4 separate regions of the Homo sapiens genome follow, and all the other regions are linked to region 1. The links are contacts of gene promoters, found by promoter capture Hi-C in blood cells and fetal thymus (Javierre and others, 2016). All regions are on one chromosome and are shown on one strand. The core of a region is centred on a gene start or on the middle of the fragment in contact, and the rest is flanking DNA. Distances in the headings are between cores, read along the strand shown. Region 1 holds the start of TMEM248 (transmembrane protein 248). Region 2 has its middle 52 kb from the start of KCTD7. Region 3 has its middle 35 kb from the start of KCTD7. Region 4 has its middle 17 kb from the start of KCTD7.

The links. The method cuts DNA at HindIII sites, captures the fragments that hold promoters and counts their contacts. A CHiCAGO score of 5 or more calls a contact.
Region 2: a fragment that was not itself captured here is called in contact with the fragment with the promoter of TMEM248 in region 1 in 3 of 17 cell types (activated CD4 T cells, fetal thymus and total CD8 T cells); the score reaches 6.9 in activated CD4 T cells.
Region 3: a contact is called between a fragment that was not itself captured here and the fragment with the promoter of TMEM248 in region 1, in 9 of 17 cell types (fetal thymus, total CD8 T cells, naive CD4 T cells and 6 more). The highest score is 14.3, in fetal thymus.
Region 4: a contact is called between a fragment that was not itself captured here and the fragment with the promoter of TMEM248 in region 1, in 5 of 17 cell types (naive CD8 T cells, total CD8 T cells, activated CD4 T cells and 2 more). The highest score is 5.7, in naive CD8 T cells.

Annotation. Positions count from the first base shown.
Region 1 is chr7:66,919,731-66,922,876 of GRCh38, forward strand. TMEM248 (transmembrane protein 248) reads left to right here and starts at 1,495. Exons shown (of 7, transcript NM_017994.5): 1 at 1,495-1,731. RefSeq lists a silencer at 1,537-1,786. The HindIII fragment of the contact is 775 bases long and covers 1,408-2,182 here.
Region 2 is chr7:66,574,877-66,578,022 of GRCh38, forward strand. It overlaps the pseudogene RABGEF1P1. Among named protein-coding and RNA genes, the nearest start is that of KCTD7, 52 kb to the right of the region's middle. The HindIII fragment of the contact is 1,935 bases long and covers 462-2,396 here.
Region 3 is chr7:66,592,277-66,595,422 of GRCh38, forward strand. It overlaps the pseudogene RABGEF1P1. Among named protein-coding and RNA genes, the nearest start is that of KCTD7, 35 kb to the right of the region's middle. RefSeq lists an enhancer at 6-300 and silencers at 172-241, 559-730. The HindIII fragment of the contact is 2,073 bases long and covers 594-2,666 here.
Region 4 is chr7:66,644,594-66,647,739 of GRCh38, forward strand. No RefSeq gene overlaps it. Among named protein-coding and RNA genes, the nearest start is that of KCTD7, 17 kb to the left of the region's middle. The HindIII fragment of the contact is 7,195 bases long and covers 1-3,146 here.

The DNA of each region.
Region 1 (3,146 bases), core at 245-2,744:
AGCCCAGGAGTTTGAGACCAGCCTGAGCAATTTGGGGGAAACCCCATTTCTGTGAAAAATATGAAAATTAGCTGGGCACGATGGTGCACATCTGTGGTCCCAGCTACTCAGGAGGCTGAGACAGGAGGATCACTTCAGCTTGGGAGGCCGAGTCTGCAGTGAGCCATGATCATGCGACTGCACTCCAGCTTGGGTGACAGAGCAAGACCTTGTCTCAAAAGCAAGAACAACAAAACTTTATTACCTTTAAAGCACCCTGTACTCCTCCCCCATCCCATTCCCCTAACACTTAACATGAAGTTTATACATCTTTTTCTCATGCTTCATGTCAGTTCAAACAATTATGTATGCATCTCTAAACAATATGTTATGAACTTGCCTGTTTTGAATTTTACATAATGGAAATATGTAGCAGTGTACCATTTTGTGATTTGGTCCCTGCCAATATAGTCTGCAATTGACTACCATAATTGTGTGAGCTGTATTAAATAATTTTCACTGGTCTTTTGTACCCGATTAAACACGAAGATGGGCCAGGCGTGGCAGCTCACACCTGTAATCCCAGATCCTCCCGAGGTGGGAGGATCACTTGGGTCCAGTAGTTCGAGACCAGCTTGAGTAACATAGGGAGACCCTGTCTCTACAAAAACAAACCAAACCATGAATATATCAAAGTTGGTTTTTACATTTGACTGTATGGACATCTGCTTTTTCTCCCCAATTTTTAGTGAGTCATACTGCTGCTAAAAACATTGGTGTTGCTATGAGCATTATTTTGTCTACTTGTGCATAGGTGCAACTGTTTCTCCAGGGTAATATATTCTCAAGAGAGGATGTGTATATCTTTAAGTGTACTGCATAATGCCAAATTACTTTGCAAAGTGATTGTACAAAATTATACTTTAAAAATTTTCATTTTCATTTTATTTTATTTATAAATAGAGTCAGAGACTCCCTATGTTACCCAGGCTGGTCTGGAACTCCAGGACTCAAGCGATCCTCCTGCCTTGGCCTCCCAAAGTGCTGAGATTACAGGCCTGAGCCACCGCGCCTGGTCCAAAATTACATGTTTATCAGCAGTGATTAATATACAAGCACATCAACAGACACACGCATAGCACACACATGAGCATGCACACGTGTGCGCACTCCCTACACATCTACGCATGCACACACCCATACCATCACACACCACACACGCGCACACAGATGCACATACATGCACTCACTGCACACACCGTTGTACACGATGCACACTACAAGCCACATACACGCACTACGCACACACGCACACGCACAACACCAGACCGGCACACAGACCCATAAACGTCCATCACGCACTCCACGCACGTCCGCATGCACGCTACCCGTCCCGGAAGCGTGGTCTCCGCCGCCTGCCTCTGACGAAGCTTGTCCCGGCCGCGCCACCGTCGGACGCCCGGGGTCGGAGGTCACGGCGGCGTTGGAGGTGGCGTGGTTTTTTTTTTTTTTTTCACCCGGAAACCGCGGTTGCCGGAGCCCGAACTGAGGCGGCGGCGGGAGCCCGGTTGGCGTCTGGTCTTCGCGTCGGCCCCGCGGAGCCAGACGCTGCCCCCGGCGCGGGGAGAAGATGGTGCCTAGCGGCCTCGGGCCCGCCACGCGCCGCCACGAGTGAGCCCAGCGCGACCGCGGGCGTCCGCCGAGCAGCTGGCCCGGCTGGGCCCGGGGCGCGCAGCTGCCCGCCGGGGCGGGGTGAGCCGGGGCTGGAGGGCGGGCTGGGGTCGGGCCCAGTCGGGGCTGCCCGCGGGGCCGGGAGCGGGGAGCGTGCTGGTCGGGAGCGGCTCCTCCGCCGGCTTTTTTCACCGCTTCTCAGGGTGCAGACCCCGCCCCAACTGCTGGCGGGGGTCGCCCAGCATCGGCCGACCTCGGCCTGGTCCCCCCACACTGGGGTTTGCCCACTCGCGTCCCCCGAGCCAGGGTTCCCTGCCGGCCTTGGAGATGGCGGGACTTCCCACGTCTGGAGCCGAGGCCTGGATAATTCGGATTTGGCACGGGAAACATCTTGGTCGTTTGCCATTTTTCGGCTTTGGGGAGTGTTTGCGTTTCTTCTCCGTTTGGCAGTGAAACACATCTCAGAAAGGTGGGAGGGAGAGACTCACGTACGTCCACAAAGTTAAATGGCATAGTGGTGTTCCCTGTGTCAAGCTTGGTAAATATCCGGAATGGGGTGGATTCTTTCTTCATGTTTTTAATAAAATGAGGAGTGATCGCAAGGTAATCTAGAGGCATGTAGTTTCAGTTCCCTTGATGGGGACCATCAGAAATAAAACCAGGCTTGTTGTGCTGTTTTGAGTCGTTTGAACGCCGTACCCATCGGACAGCTGGTGAGGAGGCCTTTGTGGAAGAATCTGATGTCTGAGTTTAGTTCTCAACTAGCAGGTGACAGCCCTCACTGGCTGATGAATGGTGAGCTTCTCTGAAGCCTGCTTTGTAAAGATTGTGGCTTCCGCCTGAACTGCTTCTTTCCTGCCTCAAAGGTGAGCCGCTACGGGAGGGAATGGGAAGAAAAACTCCGAGACTGCTGATGAATATGTGATAAAGTGGTTTGTCTCGATAGCACCATCAGCTTGGGTCAGCTTAGGGTCTCAGCATGTGTATCTCATTTGTAGATGAGTGTTCCATCAGCGCTTGACCGATAAGGGTGTCCATCTACTTCCTCTTTTCATCTAGGGATTCTGACAGGAAATAGACCTGTCGCGCACCTAAGGTATACTTAGGTGTGCATTGACCCTAAGTGCATTTACTCTCTAGGATTAAGGATTTGGAGTTTCAACTTGTAGTGAAGATTCTGGGAGAATTCCTGTGGCCTGAATCAGGTGGACTGGAATCACTGCTAGCACCGGAGTCTCAATGCTAAAATCACCAAAGGCTAGTTAACTGGCACCTTCTCCGTTTAGGCTCTAGCTGCATCTGTGGCAAGGAGGAAAGGTAGATTATATATATATATGTTTTTGAGACAGAGTCTCACTCTTGTCGCCCAGGCTGGAGTGCAGTGGTGCGATCTCTGCTCACTGCAACCTCTGCCTCCCAGGTCCAAGCAATCCTCCTGCCTCAGCCTCCCTAGTAGCTGGGATTACAGGTGCCCGCCACCATGCCCAGCTAATTTT
Region 2 (3,146 bases), core at 179-2,678, 340 kb before region 1:
CACGCCTGTAATCCCAGCACACTGGGAGGCCAAGGCAGCCGGATCACTTGAGCTCAGGAATTTGAGACCAGCCTGGGAAACATGGTGAAACCCTGTCTCTACATAAAATACAAAAATTAGCTGGGCGTGGTAGCATGCTCATGTAGTCCTAGCTACTTGGGAGGCTGAAGCAGAGGGATCACTTGAGCCCAGGAAGCAGAGGTTGCAGTGAGTCCAGACTGTACCATGTACCACTGCACTCCAGCAGGGATGACAGAACAAGACCCTGTCTCAAAAAAACAAAAAACAAACAAAAAACTCAAGCACTATCTATAAGACAGTGGTTCTCCAAGTGTGATTCCCCAGACAGCAATAGCAGCAACACCAGGCAACTTGTTAGAAATGCAAATTCTCTAGTCTTACTCCCAAACTACTAAAATCAGAGATTCTGAGGGTAAAGTCCAACAATCACTGCTTTTACAAGCTTTCCGAGAGATTTAGCAGGGTCACAATTAAAAGCAGTAAGAAATAGAAACAAAAATCACAGGTGGAGGTGCTAAGTCTGAGGATGGAATCGGGACACCTCTTTCTCTGGGACAGACAAGAAGTTAATATAAAGGTATTAGTACATTTTATGTAGCCAGGGGAGGAAGCTGAGAGAGTTTGTGCCTAGTGGCCTCTACTCTGTTTTCGAAACAGGGTCTGCTACTGACAGCATGAGGCATGCAGTCGGAAGCCTGAGGAGATCATTCACGTTCTGGGTTAAAATTTTCTCTCTTTGATTGACCACAGTCACTGAAAGCAATGTGTAATTTCTAATTCTCTGGGTTTACCACAGATACCAGCAAAGAAGTCAACTCAACAAATATTGGCTGACTGGATGAAAAAAAAAAAAAACTAGCAAGAGTTAGCAGAATTCCATTTGACTTTCTTCTGTTGAAGCAGTTTTAGAATTTCTAGAATGCTCTGGCAAAGAATTAACATTATTTATGGCATTTTACTAGTTCCTATGCTCACTAGCCATCCCATCATTTAATTTTGTTTTGTTTTTTGTTTTTTTTTTTGAGACCAGAGTCTCACCTTGTTGCCCAGGCTGGACCGCAGTGGCACGATCTCAGCTCACTGCAATCTCCGATACCTGCATTCAAGGAATTCTCCTACCTCAGCCGCCCAAGTAACTGGGATTACAAGCACGTACCACCACATCCGGCTAACTTTTTAAATATTTTTAGTAGAGATTGGGTTTCACCATGTTGGTCAGGCTGGTCTCGAACTCCTAACCTCAGGTAATCCAGCTGCCTCAGCCTCTCAAAGTGCTAGGATTACAGGCGTGAGCCACTGCGCCCGACCCATCATTTAATTTTTAACATCACTGTATATCCAGATAATACAAACTGCCTTTGAGTAACCTAATTTTTAAGGAATAAATTTCTATAATGCAAGGACTATGTATACGAGTCACCAGAGTTCTACTACTGTTTTATCACTGAGCTACATGCCATGCTGAATATAGTAAAAGAACGAGAGAAATAATGCTTGATGACTGCCATTTGCAAGCCCTGCGCTGGGTACATCATATTTATTAGCTCATTTAATCTTCACCAGGAAATATGCCTGTCTCCATTCTTCCACTCCAAGGAATTTGTCTAAATTTGAGAACTAAGACTAACACAATCCAAAGAAAATAACCAGAAGTTAAGACAAACACAAAATGAAGAAACTACTGAAAGCTGTTCATTAAAGGTTGACTGAGAAGAAGAGGGGAAAACATCCTTTTCCTTAATATTAAACTGACTTGCTGATAGCTGAATGCAGAAGAGAAAAAATGTATTTGCACGGTGACAGAGCTATGTATCCAGTCACATCACTGATCAACCGCCCCTAGTTAAGTCCTTTTACCGTTCCACCAGCTCCCAGTACTCCTGAATCTGCTTCTGCCTGGCTTTGTGCTACTCTTCCCTCCAGCACTTGGAGCAGAAACCCTGCCAGGTAGGGTTGCCACAGTAACCACATCCTTTCTTGCACAGGATCCACATGAATTCCTCGGCGTTCAGACCTAAGGCTCATCTTCTTCCTGCTAACCAATGAACAAACAAGAAAGTGCTGTTGAAAATGAATTATCATCCTACTAAACTAAAACCTTACCAGTTACGAACAAAACCTGAGTGATTCCATTATCTTCAAGCCGTAAGAGAGGGAAGGAGGGAATGAATGAGGAAGGGAAGGAGGGAGGGAAAGAGGGGAGGAAGGAAGAAGGAAAAAGTTAAATATAGTAAATTCCTGACAGTTACATTAAAGAAAGACTTATTCCCTGCCCAAAATACAAAGAACTCATTAAGAAAGGGCTAACATTGGATTAAAGACCTAAATGTATAGGCTTGAAACTAGAAAACTCCTAGAGGAAAACTTAGGGGAAAAGCTTCCCAACACTGGATTTTGCAATGACTTCTAGGATATGACACCAAAAGCACAGGCAACAAAGGCAAAATCAGACAAATACATTACATCAAATTTTAATATCTCTGCACAACATAGGAAGCAAATGACAGAGTAAGAAGGAACAATATACAGAATTGTAGAACATATCTGCAAACCACATATCTAATAAGGAGTTAATATCCAGAACATAAAGGAACTCTTACCACTCAGTAACAAAAAAAACAAGATAATCCGGTTTACAAATGGGAAAAGGACTGCAATAGACAATTCTCCAAAGACATACCAACAGCCAATAATCACGTGAAAAAGTGTTCAAGATCATTAAATCAGGGAAATGCAAATCAAAACCACAATGAGATATCTCTTTGTACCCATTAGGATGGCTACTACAAAAAAAACATTTGCAGTTTTTGACGTGGTGGCAAATAAGCACATGAATAGTTGATCAACATTGTTCAATCATTAGAGAAATGCAAATTAAAACCACCATGAGATATCACTCAAACCTATTAGAATGGCCAAAATAAAACATACTGACACAGCCTGGGCAACATGGCAAAACCCAGTCTCTACCAAAAAAATACAAAAAAAAAAATTAGGCAGCGATGGTGGTGCATGGCTGTGGTCCCACCTACACAGTAGGCTGAGGTGGGAGGATCACTTGAGCCTGGGAGGTGGAAGTTGAAGCAAGCCAATATTACACCACTGCACTCCAGCCTGGGTGACAG
Region 3 (3,146 bases), core at 380-2,879, 330 kb before region 1:
CGTCCAAAGCCCCGCTCGCCCGCGTCGTTCGGGTAGGTCTCGACTCCGCGGTCCGCTACCGCCTCATACCCACCCTCCTCCTCGCCCCGCTCCCGGCACCGCCAGAATGCACGTTACGCACGGCGTGCAAACGTCACTTCCGTGGCCTTTGGCTCAGGACGGGAGGAGGTGTGGATCCAAAGGTGGCGCGTGCCTGTAACCCCACCTACTAGAAAGGCTGAGGCAGGAGGATCTGTTGAACCTGGGAGGCAGAGGTTGCGGTGAGCCGAGATCGTGCCACTGCACTCCAGCGTGGGTAAAAGAGAGAGATTCCCTCTAAAAAAACGAAAAAAAAAAAAAAAAAGAAATCCAAGATAAGATCACAGAACTGGCAGGTTTGGTTTCTCCTGAGGCCTCTCTTCTTGGCTTATAGATAGTCACTGTCAGGCCTCCGAGCCCAAGCTAAGCCATCATATCCCTTGTGACCTGCATGTATACATCCAGATGGCCTGAAGTAACTGAAGAATCACAAAAGAAGTGAAAATGGCCTGTTACTGCCTTAACTGATGACATTACCTTGTGAAATTCCTTTTCCTGGCTCATCCTGGCTCAAAAGCTTCCCCACTGAGCACCTTGTGTCCCCCGCCCCTACCTGCCAGAGAACAACCCCCTTTGACTGAAATTTTCCTTTACCTACCCAAATCCTATAAAACAGCCCCACCCCTATCTGCCTTCCCTGACTCTGAGTCCCTTCCAGGACTCAGCCTGCCTGCACCCAGGTGAAATAAACAGCCTTGTTGCTAACACAAAGCCTGTTTGGTGGTCTCTTCACACGGACACCAGTGAAAGTGACCTCTTCACTGTGTCCTTACATGGCCTTTTCTCTGTGAACATGCATTTTTAGTGTCTCTGTGTGTGTCCAAATTTCCTCTTTTTATAAAGTCACCAGTTGAATTGGATTAGGGCCCACCCTAATGGCATCATCTTAACTCACCTCTTTAGAGACCTTGTTTCTAAATACAGTTGCATTCTGATGTACTGGGATTAGGACTACAACATATGAATCTGGTGGGGATCACAATTAAGCCTATAACGTAATCATAATTACTTAAAAAATAAATAACATGGTGATATAGAATAACCAGGCAGGAGTGAGGGTTAGGGAGGCTAGGGAGATCGTGATAAGATGATGGCTCCAAGTTGAGAGCATGAGGGACTGTGAGGGTGAAGCCACGTGAGAAGAAAGAGGAGAAGGAAGATGCCAGCTGTCCTGGAGTTTAGGCAGGACTTAAGTGACTTTCAGACTGATCACTTATCCAAATATGAAAACTCTCAGGACTCAGAAAATGATACGACTGAGCAACAGTGCAGCACCAGGGCAGATGTTTTGGCTTCTTCTTGTGTAGCTCATCTCATATCTCCAGTTAGAAACTTTCCTTTTTTTTTTTTTTTTCTGAGACGGAGTCTCGCTCTGTCACCCAGGCTAGCGCAGTGGTGTGATCTCGGCTCACTGCAAGCTCTGCCTCCCAGGTTCTCGCCATTCTCCTGCCTCAGCCTCCCGAGTAGCTGGAACTACAGGCGCCCACCACACCCGGCTAATTTTTTTGTATTTTTAGTAGAGACGGGGTTTCACCGTGTTAGCCAGGATGGTCTCGATCTCCTGACCTCGCGATCCGCCCACCTCGGCCTCCCAAAGTGCTGGGATTACAGGCGTGAGCCACCGTGCCCGGCCAAGTTTCCTTGTATTTAATGTAGAATCTGATGGGAACAGGCCCCCCAAAATCTGGCCATAAACTGGCCCCAAAACTGGCCATAAACAAAATCTCTGCAGCACTGTGACATGTTCATGATGGCCATAACGCCCTTGCTGGAAGATTGTGGGTTTACCGGAATGAGGGCAAGGAACACCTGGCCCACCCAGGGCGGAAAACCAGAAAAACGCTTATAGGCATTCTTAAGCCACAAACAATAGCATGAGCGCTCTGTGCCTTAAGGACATGCTCCTGCTGCAGTTAACTAGCCCAACCTATTCCTTTAATTCGGCCCATCCCTTCGTTTCCCATAAGGGATACTTTTGGTTAATTTAATATCTTATAGAAACAATGCTAATGACTGGCTTGCTGTTAATAAATACGTGGGTAAATCTCTGTTCAGGGTTCTCAGTTCTGAAGGCTGTGAGACCCCTGATTTCCCCCTTCACACCTCTATATTTCTGTGTGTGTATCTTTAATTCCTCTACCGCCGCTGGGTTAGGGTCTCCCTGACCGAACTGGTCTCGGCAGAATTCCTCTTGCTGGGATATAAACCTGTATCCTCTTGTTCTGTCCCCAGAGAAGAGATGTCACAAGTCTGTTCATGTATTGGAATACTATTATTTATCTTTTCGGCAGACTTATTTTCTGCAAGTTGTTTTGGCTTTTCTTCTATAACTGCATCTGGGTAACCTGGCAGTGCAGAGCCAGGCCCTGGGCTTCAAGACAGGGACACACCAAGTCTCAGCACACAGACATGTCCCCACTCTGCTACCCAGCAGCCTAGGGAGTCAGCTGGACTAGTTAGTCGGCTTTGTGAAACTCTTCATCTGGGAAACAATGTTAGATTCTGGTTAAATTTAGCTCTGAATATGATCTTATCTATTTAATAATTTTTAAGTTTTTCTAAAAATCAAGTCCTCTGTACTTCTCTTAAGCTTTGGAGCCTAAATTAGAAATAGTCCTGAAATCAAAGTCTGATTTCTCCCTCTTATTTTTCTTTACATTCTGTTTCAGCTAATGATGCTTGTTCATTTATTGAACAGTTAAATAGCAGCTTGGACTCAAGTTCACTATAAAGTTCACAATTACTCCTTGGCCATTTCCAGCCAACAGTGGCTGCCATATTCCAGCCATGCCTTTCCTCATTTTGGTCACCCACTGACATCTAAGTTGTTCACTAAATCCAACAGTGTGTGGGCACTTGGCAGATAGTGGGTCTCCATGCTGGACATCCATGACAACGGCCCATTTGATTTTTTTGTTTGTTTTGTTTTGAGACAAAGTCTCACTCTGTTGCCCAGGCTAGAGTGCAGTGGCACGATCTCGGCTCACTGCAACCTCCACCCCCAGGTTCAAGCGATTCTCCTGCCTCAGTCTCCAAGGAGCTGGGATTACAGGTACACACCATCATGC
Region 4 (3,146 bases), core at 395-2,894, 270 kb before region 1:
GTGAAAACTCACTATCACAAGAACAGCATAGGGGAAATCTACCTCCATGATCCAATCACCTCCCTCCAGGTCCCTCCCCTGACAAGTGGGGATTACAGTTCAACATGAGATTTGGGTGGGGACACAGAGCCAAACCATATCAAATGTGTAGTCCTTATGTAGCCCCTGTGTTAAGGGGGTAGATGGGGCTCCCGATTTACTGACCTTCTTAGTGAGGGACACATATCCGCTAGGTGAAGGAGGCCCTGTTCACAGGATGATGTATGGAGTATGACAGAGTAGGTGAGTCATGGCTCCTTGGCTAGACCCCAAGGGTGGGATGATCTGGAACCACCTGAGTTAATGACACTCCTGAAGCCTTGCAGGTATCCCTGCATAGACAAGCTGGATAGCCTACTTCCAACATCAAAAGCATAACAGAATGGGAGACTCCTTAGTGTAGTTCAGGGGATGCCATGTGCCTGGCTTGGGACTCATGGCCCTTGGACTTAGATCTCTATACTGCCAAGTGTCCCGTCTTCATTCTTGTGTAGATGACCTCTTCACTACTTAATTTTGGTTTGTTGAACTTATAGCCTGTTCCCTTAGCTTTTATTTACTTACCTTTAGCTTTCTTTTAATTCCTTACCACATTGTTTTTCCTATCATGTACTTTAGCTTAATTTCTCTGTTTTTTAAACATAATTTTAAACTTTCTTTCTTTCTTTCTTTTTTTTTTTTTTGAGACAGTCTTGCTCTGTTGCCCAGGCTGCAGTGTAGTGGTGCAATCTCAGCTCACTACATCCTCCACCAGCTGGGTTCAAGCAATCCTCCTTCGTCAGCCTCCCAAGTAGCTGGGATTACAGACGCGCCACCAAGCCTGGCTAATTTTTGTATTTTTAGTAGAGATGGGGTTTCACCATATTGGCCAGACTGGTCTCAAACTCCTGACCTCAGGTGATGTACCCGCCTTGGCCTCCCAAAGTGCTGGGAGTACAGGCATGAGCCACCACCACACCGAGCCTAGTAGTTTTTGTTTTGAGAAAGAATAGTTAGGTGCTTTTCTTTTCCCTTCCCCAGTCATGTCTACAGTGATCTTATTAGCTGTGAACTTAGGTACCTCATTTTTTCTCAGATGAATACCTGCTTCTAAAATCTAAATGCAAAGTAAGAGTGACAGTATTACTATAAAATTCATAGATGTTCATTATCTAGGTATATTCAAAGGACAGAATTTTATGTCTTCTTCCAAAGTGTACCCCTGACCCTCCACCACACCACACACACACACACACATGAAATAATAAACAGAGCAGCCTTAGGAAGAGGGCAGTTCAATTCCTGGACTGCAAAGGACTTCTTCTCTCACACACTTGTTTTTCCTGAGGAATGACATGATCTGGAAATCCTAGGTATCCCCCTTCTCCAACCACTTGACACCAGGTGGACACAGAGCTGTTGTACACCAGGAGAAGATCCAGTCAACTGTGGGAAAGACTGAACCATGAACCATCCAGAAATACTCCGTAACAGGGGCCTGTCATCAGATTATGATGTACCTTTTCTAGCCACCTCTGGCCTCTATGTCAACCTTATTCACACCTCAACAAACCATGACTTCTGAGGATTCTCTTTTTTTTTTTTTTTTTTTTTTTTTGAGACGGAGTCTCATTCTGCTGCCCAGGCTAGAATGCAGTGGTGCAGTCTCAGCTGACTGCAACCCCCGCATCCCGGGTTCAAGCAATTCCCTGCCTCAGCCTCCCAAGTAGCTGGGATTACAGGTGCTCGCTACCACACCCGGATAATTTTTGTATTTTTAGTAGAGATGGAGTTTCACCATCTTGGCCAGGCTAGTCTTGAACTCCTGACCTTGTGATCCACCCACCTCAGCCTCCCAAAGTGCTGGGATTACAGGCGTGACCCATCGCACTTGGCCAGGATTCTCTTAATGTAATACAGACCCTCATTTCTTCCCCGTATCATATGATCCTGGCAGATGGCCCAGCCCCAGTAGATTTTTGGAATGGAGGTATCCATACTTTTCTCAGTCATTATTAAAATCAAGAAATAGAATCACATAGCAACACAAAACTTGGAGCTTGACCCTCATTAAAAGAAACTTACAGGTTCAGAGTCCAGTTGAAGAAATCTTTGTATCTCCAGTATTTTTGTAAAGAGGTCAGGGTGGTATCATGAGTAGGCTTAAGTCCCTACAGTCTTTGTGAACTTTTATAAATGCCTTGGGTATCCAGTTTCTCAACATAGCATCTTCATCACCAACTGTACCTCAGCTGACTGCCCCAAGGGCCCACCCGTGTGTGCACACGTTGCAGGTGTTTACTGTCCCTCTCACCATGTCCTCCTCCACCTCTCCCCTCTGTTTGTAACTGTCCTGTCTTTGATATTTAAAAGCTAGTTGGCCACTTCTGGCCATGCCTTATCTGGTACCTGTTAGCCAACCATGACAGTGATGCCATACCCAGGACTGTCTGCTTCTTGTTCTCAGGCAGGTAGGTGCTCTCAGCACTGATGTCTCTTGCTTTCCAAGTCAGCTTTTACATCTGGCCTGCTAGGAACTGGAGAGCATTTTCAGTCTTCATAGCAGCAGCATAGGATCCTGCAGGCTCTGTATCCACCTAAGTTAAGGTAAGGTGGATACACATCCTGGAAACTCTGTATCTACCTCCACAACAGCTGCAGAGGATGCCTGCAGGATCACACTGAGCAGACACACTAGTTTCATCACACTAGTTTCATCTTCTGCACCAGAAAGGAAGAATCTATTTTGCCTGGCCAGGCATGGTGGTTCACACCTGTAATCCTATAGCACTTTGAGAGGCAGAGGCAAGAGGATTGCCTGAGGCCAGGAGTCCAGGACCAGCCTGGGTGACATAGCAAGATCCTATGTCCAAAAAAACAAAATTCAAAAACATAAGCCAGGCAGGGTGGTGTGCACCTGCAGTCCCAGATACTTGGGAGCCTGAGGTGGGAGGTTCACTTGAGCCCATGAGGTTGAGGTTGCAATGAGCCGTGATTGCACTACTGCAGTCCAGCCTCAGTGACAGAACAAGACCCTGTCTCTAAAATAAAAAGTAAAATAAATAAATATTTTGCTTGGAAACCGAGTTCACCATGAGTTTCTTAACAAAAATATGAACTTAACTAAT